4 separate regions of the Homo sapiens genome follow, and regions 2, 3 and 4 are each linked to region 1. Evidence: promoter capture Hi-C in 16 types of primary human blood cells and fetal thymus (Javierre and others, 2016). All regions are on one chromosome and are shown on one strand. The core of a region is centred on a gene start or on the middle of the fragment in contact, and the rest is flanking DNA. Distances in the headings are between cores, read along the strand shown.

Region 1 (3,886 bases), core at 953-3,452:
AAACAGATATATAGACCAACAGAACAGAACAGAGGCCTCAGAAATAACACCACACATCTACAACCATCTGCTCTTTGACAAATTGACAAAAACAAGAAATGGGGAAAGGATTCCCTATTTAATAAATGGTGCCAGGAAAACTGGCTAGCCATATGTAGAAAGCTGAAACTGGATCCCTTCCTTACACCTTATACAAAAATTAATTCAAGATGGAGTAAAGACTTAAATGTTAGACCTAAAACCATAAAAACCCTAGAAGAAAACATAGGCAATACCATTCAGGACATAGGCATGGGCAAAGACTTCCTGACTAAAACACCACAAGCAATGGCAACAAAAGCCAGAATAGACAAATGGGATATAATTAAACTAAAGAGCTTCTGCATGGCAAAAGAAACTACCATCAGAGCGAACAGGCAACCTACAGAATGGGAGAAAATTTTTGCAATCTACCCATCTGACAAAGGGCTAATATCCAGAATCTACAAAGAACTTAAACAAATTTACAAGAAAAAAAACAAACAACCCCATCAAAAAGTGGGCAAAGGATATGAACAGACACTTCTCAAAAGAAGACATTTATGCAACCAACAGACACATGAAAAAATGCTCATCATCACTGGTCATCAGAGAAATGCAAATCAAAACCACAATGAGATACCATCTCATGCCAGTTAGAATGGCGATCATTAAAAAGTCAGGAAACAACAGATGCTGGAGAGGATGTGGAGAAAGAGGAACACTTTTACACTGTTGGAGGGAGTGTAAATTAATTCAACCATTGTGAAAGACAGTGTGGCGATTCCTCAAGGATCTAGAACTAGAAATACCATTTGACCCAGCCATCCCATTACTGGGTATATACCCAAAGGATTATAAATCATGCTGCTATAAAGATACATGCACACGTATGTTTATTGTGGCACTATTCACAATAGCAAAGACTTGGAACCAACCCAAATGTCCATCAATGATAGACTGGATTAAGAAAATGTGGCACATATACACCACGAAATACTATGCAGCTGTAAAAAGGATGAGTTCATATCCTTTGCAGGGACATGGACGAAACTGGAAACCATCATTCTCAGCAAACTATCACAAGGACAGAAAACCAAACACCGCATGTTCTCATAGGTGGGAATTGAACACTGAGAACACTTGGACAAAGGGCGGGGAACATCACACACGGGGGCCTGTCGGGGACTGCGGGGCTGGGGGAGGGATAGCATTAGGAGAAATACGGAATGTAAATGACGAGTTGATGGGTGCAGCAAACCAACATGGCACACGTATACCTATGTAACAAACCTGCACGTTGTGCACATGTACCCTAGAACTTGAATAAAAAAAAAAAAAAAAAAGAAAAATTACTTGACATATCTTGACATTTTAGGCTCCCAGGATTTTACAGTATTCTTAACAGGTTTTGTCAGCAAAATCAACCCCCACCCCCGCATCAGTTTAAGAGCCCTGGAAGGCTCTGCCTATTCACCAGCATAGAGCTGAGATCCTTAAAGGGCCAGTTCAGGGCACTGCTCCAGCAACCGTTGCGCTGCTATAAGCTTGAGCACATCTCTTGCCCCTCCTCTCTACTTTTATAGATCCTGCATTTATTTAGCATATAATCTTTTCAATATTGACTTTGTATATGTATGTCTTCCCCTAAACTGGATGTATCTTTTAAGGAAAAGCCTGGGGTTCGTCATCCCCCTATGTATCACCTTTACAGGCGGTCACCCAAAATCTCCACATTCATCATAGAAACAGAAATTCCACTAATAAATGTCAGGTACTGCCTCCTTAACCTTGGTCCGCTATTTCCCTCCCACTTTCAGCAGTCTGGTTTATTCCATGGGTGGAAGAGGAAGCCAAGTTGGCTGAGTGTGAAGGGAATGGCGTCAGTGTGACTTCACGCCACATCGTCCCGAATGCCAGCTCCACACTGCGGTGGCACGAACGCAGGATTGAGAGATGCAGCTGGAGTAAAGAGAGAAGCCCATGTCCCTCAGACGCCACACAAAATGGGGGTAACCGCGAGAACAAAGCAGGGTACCCAACGGGGTGTGGCGGGACACCTGGGCGCACGCCGCCAGCGCCCGGGAGAGCGAAGGCGGGGAGAGAGGAACCACGCTGAGGCGTGGCAGGATGGGGGCGGGACTTCCGGAAGCCATTTGGCTGAGTGGCAGGGGAACCGGAAGTGGAGGAGCTGCTGCTGGTGCTGGGGCCGGAGGAGGGACGCGCCGGAGCGGGACCGACGGGACCGAGCGAGCGACCGACGCGCCACCCGCCGACGCCTCAGCCGCTTGGGGCCCGCACGGACCCTCTACTTCAGTGAGTGCATCCAGGGTCGCAGGGAACCGGTGGCTTAGAGGCGGGGGTCGGAAGGGGCTGCGAGGTGTTATTGTGAGAGGCCCGCGACCTCCCCTCCCCCACCCTTGCGGCCCCTCCCCCCACGCCGCCCCATCCACTTGGGGGGGGCCTCGCGAGCGCGCGCCTTCTCTGCGGGCCCAGCGTCGGCTTCCCAGCAGCCGGCGCAGCTAGTTTTCGCTCTGAGAGCCCTTTCCCGATATTCCATACCGAAAGCTGGCGTTTCTCCTCAGCCGCCGGCCGGCGCCTCCACGGCCTTTCCCAGGAGGGTAGCGCGGCGGGCGCCCCGCCCCGCCCTGCCCTGCCCTGCCCTGCCGGGCCCACCCGCGGTAGGCCTTGCGCACCCCAGCTCGCCCCGGCTGGGCGCTGCAGCTCCTGCCCGGGTCTCCGCTGCTGCCTTTTCCCTTTATCACAGGGGTCTAACTTCTCACTCTTCTCTCCCCTCGCGTCTGGTCGGAGGCCAAAACCAGTTACTCCGTTGTGTTTTTACCGAGCACTTTTCCCTCCTCCTTTTGTTGAAAAATTTCAACTCTTTAGAAACTTCTCCGTTGCCTCTTAGGATGTGTTTATTCAAAAGTTGCATAGACCGTCACCACTCGGAAGGGATTATTTCTTGGAAGGCTTTCCAGCCCCCATCTCATCTTAGACATGAATGTGCTCGGAGCGGCTGGTGACCTGCCCAAGGTCAGCCAGCTAGATAAACCTGTCAGCGGAGAGGTTTGGGGGGATGTTTTTTTCCTGGCTCACCGTCCGTTTGCCAGATCCGTGCCTTCTGGTCTACAGGTTTGATTGACCCGTTGCGTGGTGACTCATGCTTCTGCTTTTCATAGCTCGCAGGCCAGCGTTGCTTTTCAGAATTTATACACAAACAAGAACTAACACTCGGAGCTTTCGCCTCTTTGTAGAGCTTACCCGTAGAGAAAGGAAAGACCACCCGGATCCACCCTAGGACCTCATTTTGTACAGCTTGAAATTATGGGAAGGGGTTGGGCCGGGGGTAAAGGTGTGGAGAAAGTGGAAGGAGAAAGTGCTTAATTAAGATTGTCTTTGCCTTGGATGTGCCTTGTGTCTTTGGCTTCTTCTGGGCACATTGTTCTGACATAAAGGTTGCCTCCTTGTGGGGGAGAAGGGGAGGATTAGTTTGTTGGCTTGGGCATTTGATCATAAATTATGGAGGTGCTGGACCGGAGGAACCACCCACCAGCCCACGGAGGCTACCGGGCATTCAGGATAAGGGCCGCCTTCTTCTTCAGAATAACCATACCCACTCCCTCTGAAACAAAGTGGAGAGTCTTAGGTCTGAGTGGAAACTCTAAATCTTTTAATTCTTGGTTCAACTTTCTTCATCTGTTTTCCTGGTTCAGACTAAAACATCTAACTCAGCTGGAGAAGTTATAACGCTTTGTTGTTGGACGTGGTTTCTCATTAAATACATTGCACTATGCTGGTATAAGCACTTGGAAATTCTAGTGCTGTATTGTCATAGTAAGTAGAGAATATAGAAAAGGCAGGAAAA
Region 2 (3,886 bases), core at 675-3,174, 210 kb before region 1:
CCGACGAAGAGTAATATTGTTAGAAGTACAGGAAATCGATTTTGAATTTTCTAAAGTATTAGAGCACCAGCACGTAAGTTTGCTTCAGAATTCACTGTTTGTAATTTTGTCCCAATCTTACTCAGGAAGAAAATATCTTGTGGTACATTTAGGTTCTGACCTTTCAAAGAGCAAAAATACACAGAAGCCAGTCTTACCTTCCCTAGGCCAGCTTCAATGGAGTGTCAGAGGTATGCCACTAATGGGATAGTGGTGCGGAGCCAACATTTCTTAAAATAAGTCACTTTTCCACTCTAAACAGACAGTGTCTCCATTTGTCTGCTAAGTCTACAACTCATAGTTGATGCAAAACACTAGCTGAAAATGAACATACCCTGACAGCAGGACAAGCAATAGGCAGAAATACCACATTTCAGTGAAGAATGAACCCAGCCTAGAAAAGGGAAAAGGCAGTATGTGTGCTCATCTTCATCTTAGGTGACTACCTGAAAAAACTTCTGCCAATTCCAAACTAACCACAGCTAGTAGTTCTTTGCTTTGCCACTCAGTTCTATCATTTCTTCTTCCTACACCCATGGAAACGACTTCCTGTTTATCAAACAAACGCTTCTTTCCAAAAAAGCAGGGCGAGGCCAAGATAACTCAGCTCCCCCTAAGCAGGTTAATAAGAGTGCAGTCACTTTAATATCCTATTGTCCTCTAACTCCCAGGCGTGGCTGCCACTGACTAGAGGAAGAGGGTTTGTCATTTTGTCTTTCTTGCCAAGAATCCAACTACCTCTTACCGGGCTTCTTGACTTGTTGCTGCTTCTTGTTACTATCTCTTTTCTTTGCTCCTCCATTGACCAGGCCAAAAACTTTTATGGCATCTTTCATTCTTCTCTTTCTCTCACACCCTGCATCCTATCCATCAGCAAATTCTATTAACTCTACGTTCAAATCATATTCAGAATCCAACTATTTCTCACCCCTGCCTTCACTCCACTCTAGTGCCACCAGCCTCATTTAACAGCAACTACCTCACTCCTAGATTTCTGCAATAACCTCCTAGGATTACTCCTCAAAAGAGCAGCCAAGGTAGTAATCTTTTTTTAAAAACTTTTTATTTTGAGATAATTATAGATTCACAGGAAGTTGCAAAGACAGTGCAGAGAGGTCCCGTGTACCCTTCGCCCAGTTTCCGCCAATGGTTAAATCTTATATAATTATAGAACGATATCAAAACCCAGAATTTGACATGGGTACAATGCGTATGTATAGTTCTATGTCACTTTATCACATGTGTAGATTTGTGGAACAACAACTGCAATTACTACAATAGCAATTACAACTATTCGGACTCAGTCATTACTGAGTACTCTCACATATATGCCTGCATGTGTAAACGGATCTTGCCTTTCCCCTGTTCAATTTTTTGTATCAAAAAAAGATACAAAAATATTTCACCACCACAAAGATCTCCGTTGCACTACCCCTACACAGTCATGCTTGTTCCTCTATGCCCCACCATCCCTAACTCCTAGAAACCACTAATCTGTTTCCCATTTATGTAATTTCATCATTTTAAGAACACTATATAAACAGAATCATACAGTCGGCGACCTTTTGAGATTGGCTTTTTTATTTTCTTGTTTTTGTTTGTTTGTTTTTTGAGAAAGAGTCATTCAAGCTGGACTGCAGTGGCAAGATCACGGCTCACTGCAGCCTTGACCTCCTCCCACCTCAGCCTCCCAAGCAGCTAGGACTACAAGCATCTGCCACCATGCCTAGCTAATTATTTAGAGGTAGGGTTTCACCAAGTTGACCAAGCTGGTCTCAAACTCATGGGCTCAAGTGATATTCCTGCCTAGGCCTTCCAAAGTGTTGGGATTACAGGCATAAACCACCATGACTGGCCTGATATTTTTAGTCACCATAATGTCCTTAAGATCCATCCAAGTTGATGTGTCTATTAACCTTGCTCCTTTTTTTTTTTTTTTTCTTTTTTGAGGCAGAGTCTCACTGTCACCCAGGATGGAGTGCAGTGGTGCAATCTTGGCTCACTGCAACCTCCACCTCCTGGGTTCAAGTGATTCTCCTGCCTCAGCCTCCCAAGTAGCTGGGACTACAGGCGTGCGCCACCACACCCGGCTAATTTTTGCATTTTTAGTAGAGACAGGGTTTCACCATATTGGCCAGGCTGGTCTCAAACTCCTGACCTCGTGCTCCACCCGCCTCAGCCCCCCAAAGTGCTGGGATTACAGGCGTGAGCCACTGCACCTGGCCCCATTTGCTCCTTTTTACTGCTGAGTAGTACAGCATGGAATAGATGTACAAGAGTTTCCTTATCCATTCACCTACTGAAGGACATTTTGGTTGTTTCCAGTTCTTAGCTATTACAAAGAAAGCTGCTATCAACAATTAAACAATTGTGTATAGAATTTTATATGAATATAAGTTTGCATTTTCTCTTTTCTTCCTTCCTCTCTCTCTCTCTCTCTCTCAAGAGACAAGGTCTTGCTGTGTTGCCCATGTTGGAGTGCAGTGGCCCAATCATGGCTCATTGTAGCCTCAAACTCCTACACTCAAACAATTAAGTCTGCATTTCTATGTAGCAGGGTAATTCTCTTAAATCTTAAATAAGATCACATCATTTTTTTCTGTCAAAACCTCCGGATGGGTTCCCAGCTCATGACCTTTGACCTTACCTTCTTTCACTGGCTCTTTTGTTCTACTATAATCACATATGCCACCTTGCTATTTCTCAAACACAGCAGAAATACTCCTGCCACAGGGCCTTTGTTCTTTCTATTCTTTCTACTTGGAATGCTCCTCCCCAAATAGCTGCATGATCTTTTACAAAAGTATAACCTTCTCAGAGAGGTCTTTCCTATCTCTATTGTCAGCTTACCTCCTGATATTTCAATTTCATATTCACTTCCCCTACGCACTTTATCATTTTCTAACAAATGACACATTCTACCCTACTTAGTTGGTGTACTATCTGTCTTCTCCACTAGAAAACAAGCTCCATGAGGGCAGGCATTCTTGCCATTTTGTTCAATACTGTGTCTAGTACAATGAACGGTATCTGACGCATATTAAGCACTTAATAAGTATTTATTAAAAGAACAAAAGATGATTGAATACATTCCTATCCCTGTTTATTAAAACTATTTCCTGAACCTTAGATTTTATTAGCAAAATGAATGCTAAATGCTATTGCTCACCTCAATGAATTCAAGAGTCTTCCCAACTAATCTAAAAAGGCACACTAACATATATGACCTGTCTTCATATATCCAAGTCTGTACTTGGCATACAAGCAAAAAGTATACTAAATTTTCTTCTGTCTCTTCCAAATAAACTAAACTTTTTCCCTGAGAGTTTTGAGACAACACAATTTCTTCGTGAAACACATTATCACAGGATATGCTTTAGTTTTGAAAATGTGGAACTAGAACTATTTTTTTCTATGCCTCCTTATTACACATAAAATAGTACTCTGCCTATGATGGATACTTAATAATTATAGATTAGGCCAGGCATGGTGGTTCACACCTATAATCCCCGCACTTAAAGACCAGCCTGAACAGCAAAGCAAGACCCCATTGCTACAAAAAATTTAAAAATCAGCCAGGCATAGGCCGGGCGCGGTGGCTCACCTCTATAATCCCAGCACTTTGGGAGGCAGAGGTAGGTGGATTACCTGAGGTCAGGAGTTCAAGACCAGCCTGGCCAACATGGTGAAACCTCATTTCTACTCAAAATACAAAAAAAAAATTAGCCGGGTGTGGTGGCGCATGCCTATAGTCCCAGCTATTCGGGAGGCTGAGGCAGGAGAATCGCTTGAACCTGGAAAGCAGAGTTTGCAGTAAGCCGAGATCGTGCCACTGCACTCCAGCCTG
Region 3 (3,886 bases), core at 464-2,963, 180 kb before region 1:
TATTTTCAACTTATAATGGGTTTATTGGGACGTAACCCATCATAAGTCAAGAAATATCTGTACTAGCAATAATGCCTTTTGTTGGCTATAATTAACAATAATTTATTACATATTTCAAAATGGCTGAAGGAGATTTGAAATGTCACCAACAGAAAGACATGATAAATGTTTGGGGTAATGGATATCCTAATTACCCTGATTTGATCATTACATGTTGTATCCATGCAGCAAAATATCAAATGTACCCCATAAATATGTACTATAATAAATAAATACATACATACATGAATTTTACAAACAAATGTACTTCATCTTTTCAGGAAAAATTGCATTGAATATAATCTGTTCTTAGAAGGCACGTACAAAGAAGTTTTAATAGATTAAAACATCAAACTCCTGTCTACTCTTCAGTGAGAGTTCAGATTCCAGAAGACATTGAAAAGTGAAGCTTTGGGCCAGGCACGGTGGTTCACGCCTGTAATTCCAGCACTTTGGGAGTTAAAGGCAGGCGGATGGCTTGAGGCGAGGAGTTCAAGACCAGCCTGGGCAACAAAGTGAGACCTCATCTCTACAAAAAATAAAAAAATTAGCCAGGTGTGGTAGTGTGTGCCTGTAGTCCCAGTTACTCAGGAAGCTGAGACAGAAGGATTGCATGAGCCTAGCAAGGGTGAAGTGAGCCGTGATCACGCCACTGCATTGCAATCTGTGCAACAGAATGAGACACTTTCTCCAAAACAAAAAAACAAAACAAAACAAAAAAACCAAAGTGAAGCTTTATTTAGCAGTTGAATATAGTACTGAAAGCAAGGACTCTGAAGACAAGCTACTTAGATTCAAAATCTTGGAACTATCCCTTAATATATAACCTAGAACAGGTTACTTAATTTTCCAATGGCTCCCTATCTGTAAAATGTGGGCAACAATGGAACCTACTTTAAAGTGATTTTGGGGATTAACAAAGCTAATACATGCAACCTGATTAATATAATGCCTGGCACAGTAAACAGGCAATATATGTTAATTACAGGTAGTGCTGTTGTTATTTTATTTTCTTCTGGAATCAAGCCTTCAACTTTAGGCATTCCTTGGCAAGGATTAGATTTGCTTCACTAAGCAACATAATCCTGGATCTGAAACACATCAATTCCTTATTCAAGGGACAAATTGAGGGACCAAGAAGCAAAATAGCTAACAATTTGTGGGCAGCATTCAGAACCAACTGGCTGCCGCCAGCTGATGTGGGAAGAACATGGAAAGAACAGAGCTGGAAAAAAAATAAACGCATTCCATTCAGGAAAGTCACAGTGAGCCATAGGATGGAACCCACAGCAAGACCCGACCCTGAGGGCTGTGGCAGAGAGACACTGGTCTACTTCTTCACAGCAGGCCAGGCTCCCCTTGCCAACCCTACCTACTAGCTAACACCTGAGAGGAGAGAACTTACTGTTGCTTGGCAATGGCATAACTGCCTGATAAGACCACTTAACAGGGAAAGGAACTCAGCTCCTACCTTAGCTGCAAACTGGAAAGTGGGAGTTTTCTAAAAAGCAGAAAAATAAAGTTGGAACAGAGAAACTGCCAAGTCAGACAGCAGGTGGCTGGCACACAGGTATGATTGTTTTGAGAATATCTAAACAGATAAATGAGTATGAGTTTCACAGCTACAGATTACTGAAGACTATATAATAAAGGTTTTGGTGTAAAGTACACACCAGTTGCTTGAAAAACTGAATGTGTCCACAACAAAGGTAAATCAGTAGGTAAAGAAAAGATAAACTCTCAAAGAATGTTATTATATTGGGGTTGAAAATCTATAAATCTCCTAATTGTACTTACATATGAAAATTATAACAAAGCAGAAAACTTCCAACATGTTACCAAGAGACCATATATTTCCTAAGTTTGCCTGTTCTACACAGAATTCTTTTATCTTCCAAAGAGCATGATTTTGTAAATTGACATTCTAATATTAATTAAACATGACACTGTATCAAGTATGCTACTAAAGAGATAACAGATTGTGAGAGTCCTTAATTTCCCTACTCAAGACATTCCCATTCAACAAATTCTTCTGTTTCAATTGGCATGTGGTAGGAAAAAAATTAAATTTAGATCATGCCAAATTTAAAGTCATAGTTCTTTATTATTCATTCTATGAGAGGAAAAATTACTATTTCTCCCTTTTAATTCTCACTTCTAAAAAACACAGTTCTTTTTAACTCAACTCACTTTTGTAAGCACAATAATGTTCATAGTGAATGAAGCTGAAAAAAATAGTGGTTTCTTCACAACAGGCAATAAATTCACTTGCATATTCTGACACCATATTTGTAAGCAAGATACGGCAACAGAGTAAAAGACAATGAACTAAGGGACAGTTCAGCATTAAGATCAAAACAAACCACCCTTCCCCATCAGAAATAAATGCCCTATAGCAGATAGTACGGATTCAGGGATATGCCAGGACAAATGGACAGTTCAAGAAAGAACTACGTAGGAGGGAAATGCAAAGATCACAAGGGCTCAAATTCTTCCAAGACGAGAAAGAGGATCTCCTTACACTGGTATGCAGATGAACATACAGTAATTTCAAAGAATATAGTGAGCAGACTGCATGCTTTTTAGAAGGAAAGAGAAAACATTACAGTTTGAAGAAAAGCTTATTTTTTTAAAAAATTTGTTTTAAGGAAAGAGCTCTATTTCTTTTAGAAATGTCTTTAGAATTTAGGCAGATATCAAACATTTTGTCATTGTAAGCTTTTTTCAATGGGGTTATGTTTTTATACTAACTTCTGTAGCAAAATTTTTATTCTCTATTTTTATGACAAAGCTTATCTACTCTAGAACATTCTCGGCTCAGCTCTACAACTATTTTATGATCTAGATCTGTACAGTGTAATACAGTAGGCACCAGCCACGTGTAACTATCCAGACTGATGCGCTATAAATGTAAAATATATACCAGATTTCAAAGATAGTAATATAAAAAAGAATTAAACTATCTCCCTGATACATTTTTATATTGATTACATGTGGAAATTATAATATTTTAGATATATTAGGCTAAACAAAAGATATTAAAACTAATTTCACCACTTTTTACTTTTTTAATATGATTATTTAAAAATTGTAAATAATATATGTGCCCTCTTTCTCTTGGACGGCACTGATCCACATAATGCCAACAGGCTACATAATTAATCTACCAGTTAAAGGACGTATTCCTTGAAAATGACTTCTGAAATCATTGACTTGATATTGAGAATTGCCAACTGTCTATCTCACAGAAACCTGGCCCAAGTTACAAGGCTCTCAATGCTCAAACATTGCCTTGGGAGAAAATCTCAAATAAGGTCTCAAAAGTTATATTCTAGGAGCTCAATTTAATTCAATTTTTAAAATGTCTATTGAGCAACTGACTGGTTTACTGTACTGCCCTTGTGTGCAGCCATTCCCAGGAGGGGTTCTCTCAGAGAATTAAGTCTTACAGCCTTAAGACAGCAGTTCCCAAACTGTTTGGTCTCAGGACTCCTTCTCTTAAAAGTTAGGAGAAACTTCAAAGAAGTTTTGATTATGTGAGTAATATCTTTCAATATTTGCTTAGAAATCAAATTAAAAATCAGAAATTAAGACAAAAATTTAAAAGACACGTGTATACAACCACACATCTCCTTGGTCATCAGAGCAATTGCAGCATCATACATAGCATAGTCTCTGGAAATCTCTATTTTATAATTGTGAGAGACTATGAATGAAAAGTGAAAATAATGTTGTGGCATTTCTTTAAAAATGGTTTTGACCTAGGGGACCCACTGAAACAGTATTGGAGTCTATGACATCCCTGAATCAAACTCTGAGAACAACTGCCCTTAAAGCATCACTGTAT
Region 4 (3,886 bases), core at 823-3,322, 140 kb before region 1:
ATTATAGGATAAAAAGTTCTTAAATCACAGTACTTACTGACTTAAAAATTTGATAAAAGGAATAAAATATACACTATTAAAGAAGCAAACATTTATTAATTTATATTTTGCTTTGATTCAGAAAAAGTTTATGGTAGCTTACATAAGTACAACTGGATAAAATGACTAAAGAAAAAGATTAGGAAGGTGATATTCTGAAAAGTGAGATATCAGTATACTAAAATGAGAACATTAACATTCTTAACATTTTCCCAGAGATGGCCAAATGTACAATGTAAAGAAAATAGTATACAATGAATTTAGAGGAAAAACAGATCTCATACGACCAGGACAGTCAAGAAGGGGACAAAAACGGCACAAGAGTGCCTTTGTTGACAGTGAATGTTAATTCCATTTTATTTTATTCTTAGAGATGGGGTCTCACTTTGTCACCCAGACTGCAGTGCAGTGCCATAATCATAGCTCATTGCAGCTTTAAATTCCTGGGCTCAAGCAATCCTCCTGACTCAGCCTCCCAAGTAGCTAGGACTACAGGTGCACACCACCCAGTAATTCTTTTTATTTTTATAAAGACAGGGTCTTGCTATGTTACCCAGGCTGGTCTCAAACTGTTGGGCTCAAGTGATCCTCCTGCCTCAGCCTCCAAGAAAACAACAGTTTATGTTTTTACCTCCACAGGTAGTGTATATGATAATTTAAAAAAAAAAAAAAGCTATTCCAATATGCAAGGAAAGAAAAGTAAGTAAAATACTGACAACTTTGGGAGGCTGAGGCAGGCAGATCACAAGGTCAGGAGTTTGAAACCAGCCTGACTAACATGGTGAAACCCCGTCTCTACTAAAAATACAAAAAATTAGCCAGGCATGGTGGCGCACGCCTGTAGTCCCAGCTACTCAGGAGGCTGAGGCAGGAGAATCACTTGAACCCTGGAGGCGAAGGCTGCAGTGAGCTGAGATCATGCCATTGCACTCCAGCATGGGCGAAAGAACAAGACTCCGTCTTAAAAAAAAAAAAAAAAAAAAAATTGACAACCGCTCTTGGAAAAATATCTGAAATTCCTCCTCTTAGCTATAATGGATTTGGGATGTAAAGAGAAACAAATATTTAAAATCTCAATTTCACTATCATGAGAGTCAGGGACTTCAACCATGATCTCATAAAGAAAAAAAATGGCAGGACAAAGGTATGGCTTTCACCATTTCCTCAACCAACTTTATCACTCTAATGCCTCGAGAAAGCCCAGCTAGGGCCTGGCACACAGAGGTTTCATTTAATCTAGTGCTCTGCTCTTTCCACAACTCTAAGAGCACTGAAATTTTTAGAGCCACAGAATCATAAATCTATAGGAGTACAGATATATAAATTTTTGTTTACTATAAGTATGAAATTATTGATCATACAAATATAGAAACTTAGTCAAAATCCCAAACTAATCCAAAAAGCTTAATCAAACTAAAAGTGTATAGTTAGACAATTATTTTTACTAAGTGACCCATTTTGAGTAAGTTAAGATAAAACTGACAAATACAGGTAGCCTCAAGAACAAAGGTATATAAAATCAAGGCAAATTCCAAATCCAATTCCAGATTTAAACAACTAATGAGAGTGTTTAGTTTTTACTTCAGAAGATGTATGAAAAATATAGTTTCACAAACACAAGGGAACCAAACTTGCCTAGAGTTTGACCATATTGTTTAAAATGTTAGAACAGTTCTGGAATCATAGGTTTGAATCCAAAGTTTTAAAGCATTTTGTTTCTTATCAGTTGATATACTTCACTTGTAGGTCCATCTCTTCTTTATGCTAAGTTGTACTAACAGAACAGACATTTTGTAATTAAGACATATATGTGTTTGCACTCCAACTACGGTTGTAAACTTAAATGTCTGACTTTTCTGAAACTCAACTTCAATTCTTTCTAAAAAAAATTTTTTTAATCTGTGATTCCTCTGAGCACAGGGCAATCATCAATGACAACTAAGTTTCAAATTCTAACTGCCCACTATTGAATTTAGATGGACACCTGTTTGCATCAGTTTGAAGTGCAACATATTCATATGTCTTGTGAGATCTCTTTTCATTTTCATCTCTTTGTTTTTTGTGGCATTTTGTTTTCTTTTCTTTTCTTTTCTTTTTTGTTTTTTCAGTAGAGATGGGGTTTCACCAGGCTGGTCTCAAACTCCTGGCCTCAAGTGGTCTACCCACCTCAGCCTTCCAAAGTGCTGGGATTACAGGCGTGAGCCACTGCACCCAGCCCATTTTCATTTGTTTTCTCCCTCTTCTAAACAACATTGCAGTAAATACTCTTATGACTACATTCTTGTTTTGACCTACTATTATTTCTATAAGACAAATTCTTAGAAATGAAAATCCTAAGTCAAAGAATATATACTTTCCAGGTTGTTGATACATTATTGAGACATACCATTACTAAATTATTTTCCATTGAAATCATGCCTACCTAGTCCCCAAATCCCAGAGCAACAGTGGGCATAATTTGTTTAATAAAGTTTTTCCATTATGGCAAGTAAAAAAGAATGTAGTTATAATTGCCATTTGTTTGATTGTGCATGATATGTAAGTAAGGTAAATATCTAATATTAGATATGTATATTAGATAGTTATAATTTTTTTCATTGTTGCTAAAACTTTCTATCAGGTCACATTTAGCTCAAGGGCCTATTGCCCAACCTTAATTTTAGCAAGCTTATATAAAAGGGGAAAGTACAGTATGGAATAACACTGTTCTACTATTTCTGTCTTAAAAACGACTTCCTCAAACCTAATGTTGGGCAAGATAACATCTCCATTACTTATGCTCCAATACAGAAGATGTGCACAGGAGACTTGACACAATACTGTGAATAATAAAATCTATCTGCAATTAGCTACACATTGTTAGAGTTTGTAAGTCAGATCAAGCCACTTGGGATTTGTTTGTTTTTTAACCACTTTCTTAGATATCCCTTTTAAAATCTTAAGTGCCTTTTAATGCACAGTTCTGTCATGAAGCCAAGAAATAATAAAATAAGGGGAATATCAATTCTGTCTAATGCTGTCAGATTACTAAAACATTAATGATGAAGCATCATATTAAAGTGATGTATCTTATAAAAGTAACATTAGATCCCATCAAATTATAACTGATTCATCTCTTCCTACCTTGCCCAAACCAAGCTGAAAGACAAAGTAGCTTTCAGGTTCAAGATTTTCTCTAACTTGTCCAATTTATTCAGACACTGCCAGGACCAGCTCCAAAGTGATTACCTGGTTTTTAATGAATGCATTTCTTACAGACTATTAATGTGCTTCCTGATGCCAGCATCGCTGGAAGGGAATAACTAGCCCAATGAGATCATTAGTCATTGACACCAGATTATAGTAACATTAGGAAATGACGACGGGTTGCTTAGCTGCAGTTTTCCAAATGCTGCTAGGATAAAGAGAACTGACAGTAATCACCTCCACAGAGAATCACAGACTAAATCTATCCATTAAACAGTGTTCCTTCATCTTCTCAGCAAAGGAGCTCAGCTACAGAAGTTAACCTTCTTGGCAAACATTCTTTATCTATAGGAACTAGATTATAATATCACTATTCTATCTCCCTCAAAGTTCTTCCACTCTAGTGGGTGGGGCGATAGCACGGAAACCTTCCTCTTCTCTGAGGTTTATGTCACTTGACTGTATGACTATCTAAATTAATGTCTTGACTAATTTCTAGGTCATCTTTCAATGTATAAAAAGTAATCTGAGGCCAGGTGCAGTGGCTCACGCCTGTAATCCCAACACTTTGGGAGGCCAAGGCAGGTGCATCACCTGAGGTCAGGAGTTCAAGACCAGCCTGACAAATATGGTGAAACCCCATCTCTACTAAAACTACAAA

What was found. The method cuts DNA at HindIII sites, captures the fragments that hold promoters and counts their contacts. A CHiCAGO score of 5 or more calls a contact.
Region 2: a fragment that was not itself captured here is called in contact with the fragment with the promoter of PAFAH1B2 in region 1 in 3 of 17 cell types (total CD8 T cells, total B cells and naive CD4 T cells); the score reaches 6.4 in total CD8 T cells.
Region 3: a contact is called between a fragment that was not itself captured here and the fragment with the promoter of PAFAH1B2 in region 1, in 7 of 17 cell types (total B cells, total CD8 T cells, monocytes and 4 more). The highest score is 7.5, in total B cells.
Region 4: a contact is called between a fragment that was not itself captured here and the fragment with the promoter of PAFAH1B2 in region 1, in 1 of 17 cell types (total CD8 T cells). The highest score is 5.6, in total CD8 T cells.

The regions. Positions count from the first base shown.
Region 1 is chr11:117,142,085-117,145,970 of GRCh38, forward strand. PAFAH1B2 (platelet activating factor acetylhydrolase 1b catalytic subunit 2) reads left to right here and starts at 2,203. Exons shown (of 6, transcript NM_002572.4): 1 at 2,203-2,334. RefSeq lists a silencer at 2,413-2,732 and an enhancer at 3,283-3,462. The HindIII fragment of the contact is 2,379 bases long and covers 1,564-3,886 here.
Region 2 is chr11:116,931,175-116,935,060 of GRCh38, forward strand. All of the region lies in intron 3 of SIK3 (SIK family kinase 3), which reads right to left. Among named protein-coding and RNA genes, the nearest start is that of APOA1, 95 kb to the left of the region's middle. The HindIII fragment of the contact is 4,518 bases long and covers 1-3,886 here.
Region 3 is chr11:116,959,791-116,963,676 of GRCh38, forward strand. All of the region lies in intron 1 of SIK3 (SIK family kinase 3), which reads right to left. Among named protein-coding and RNA genes, the nearest start is that of APOA1, 120 kb to the left of the region's middle. The HindIII fragment of the contact is 1,887 bases long and covers 771-2,657 here.
Region 4 is chr11:116,997,469-117,001,354 of GRCh38, forward strand. All of the region lies in intron 1 of SIK3 (SIK family kinase 3), which reads right to left. Among named protein-coding and RNA genes, the nearest start is that of SIK3, 99 kb to the right of the region's middle. The HindIII fragment of the contact is 1,264 bases long and covers 1,441-2,704 here.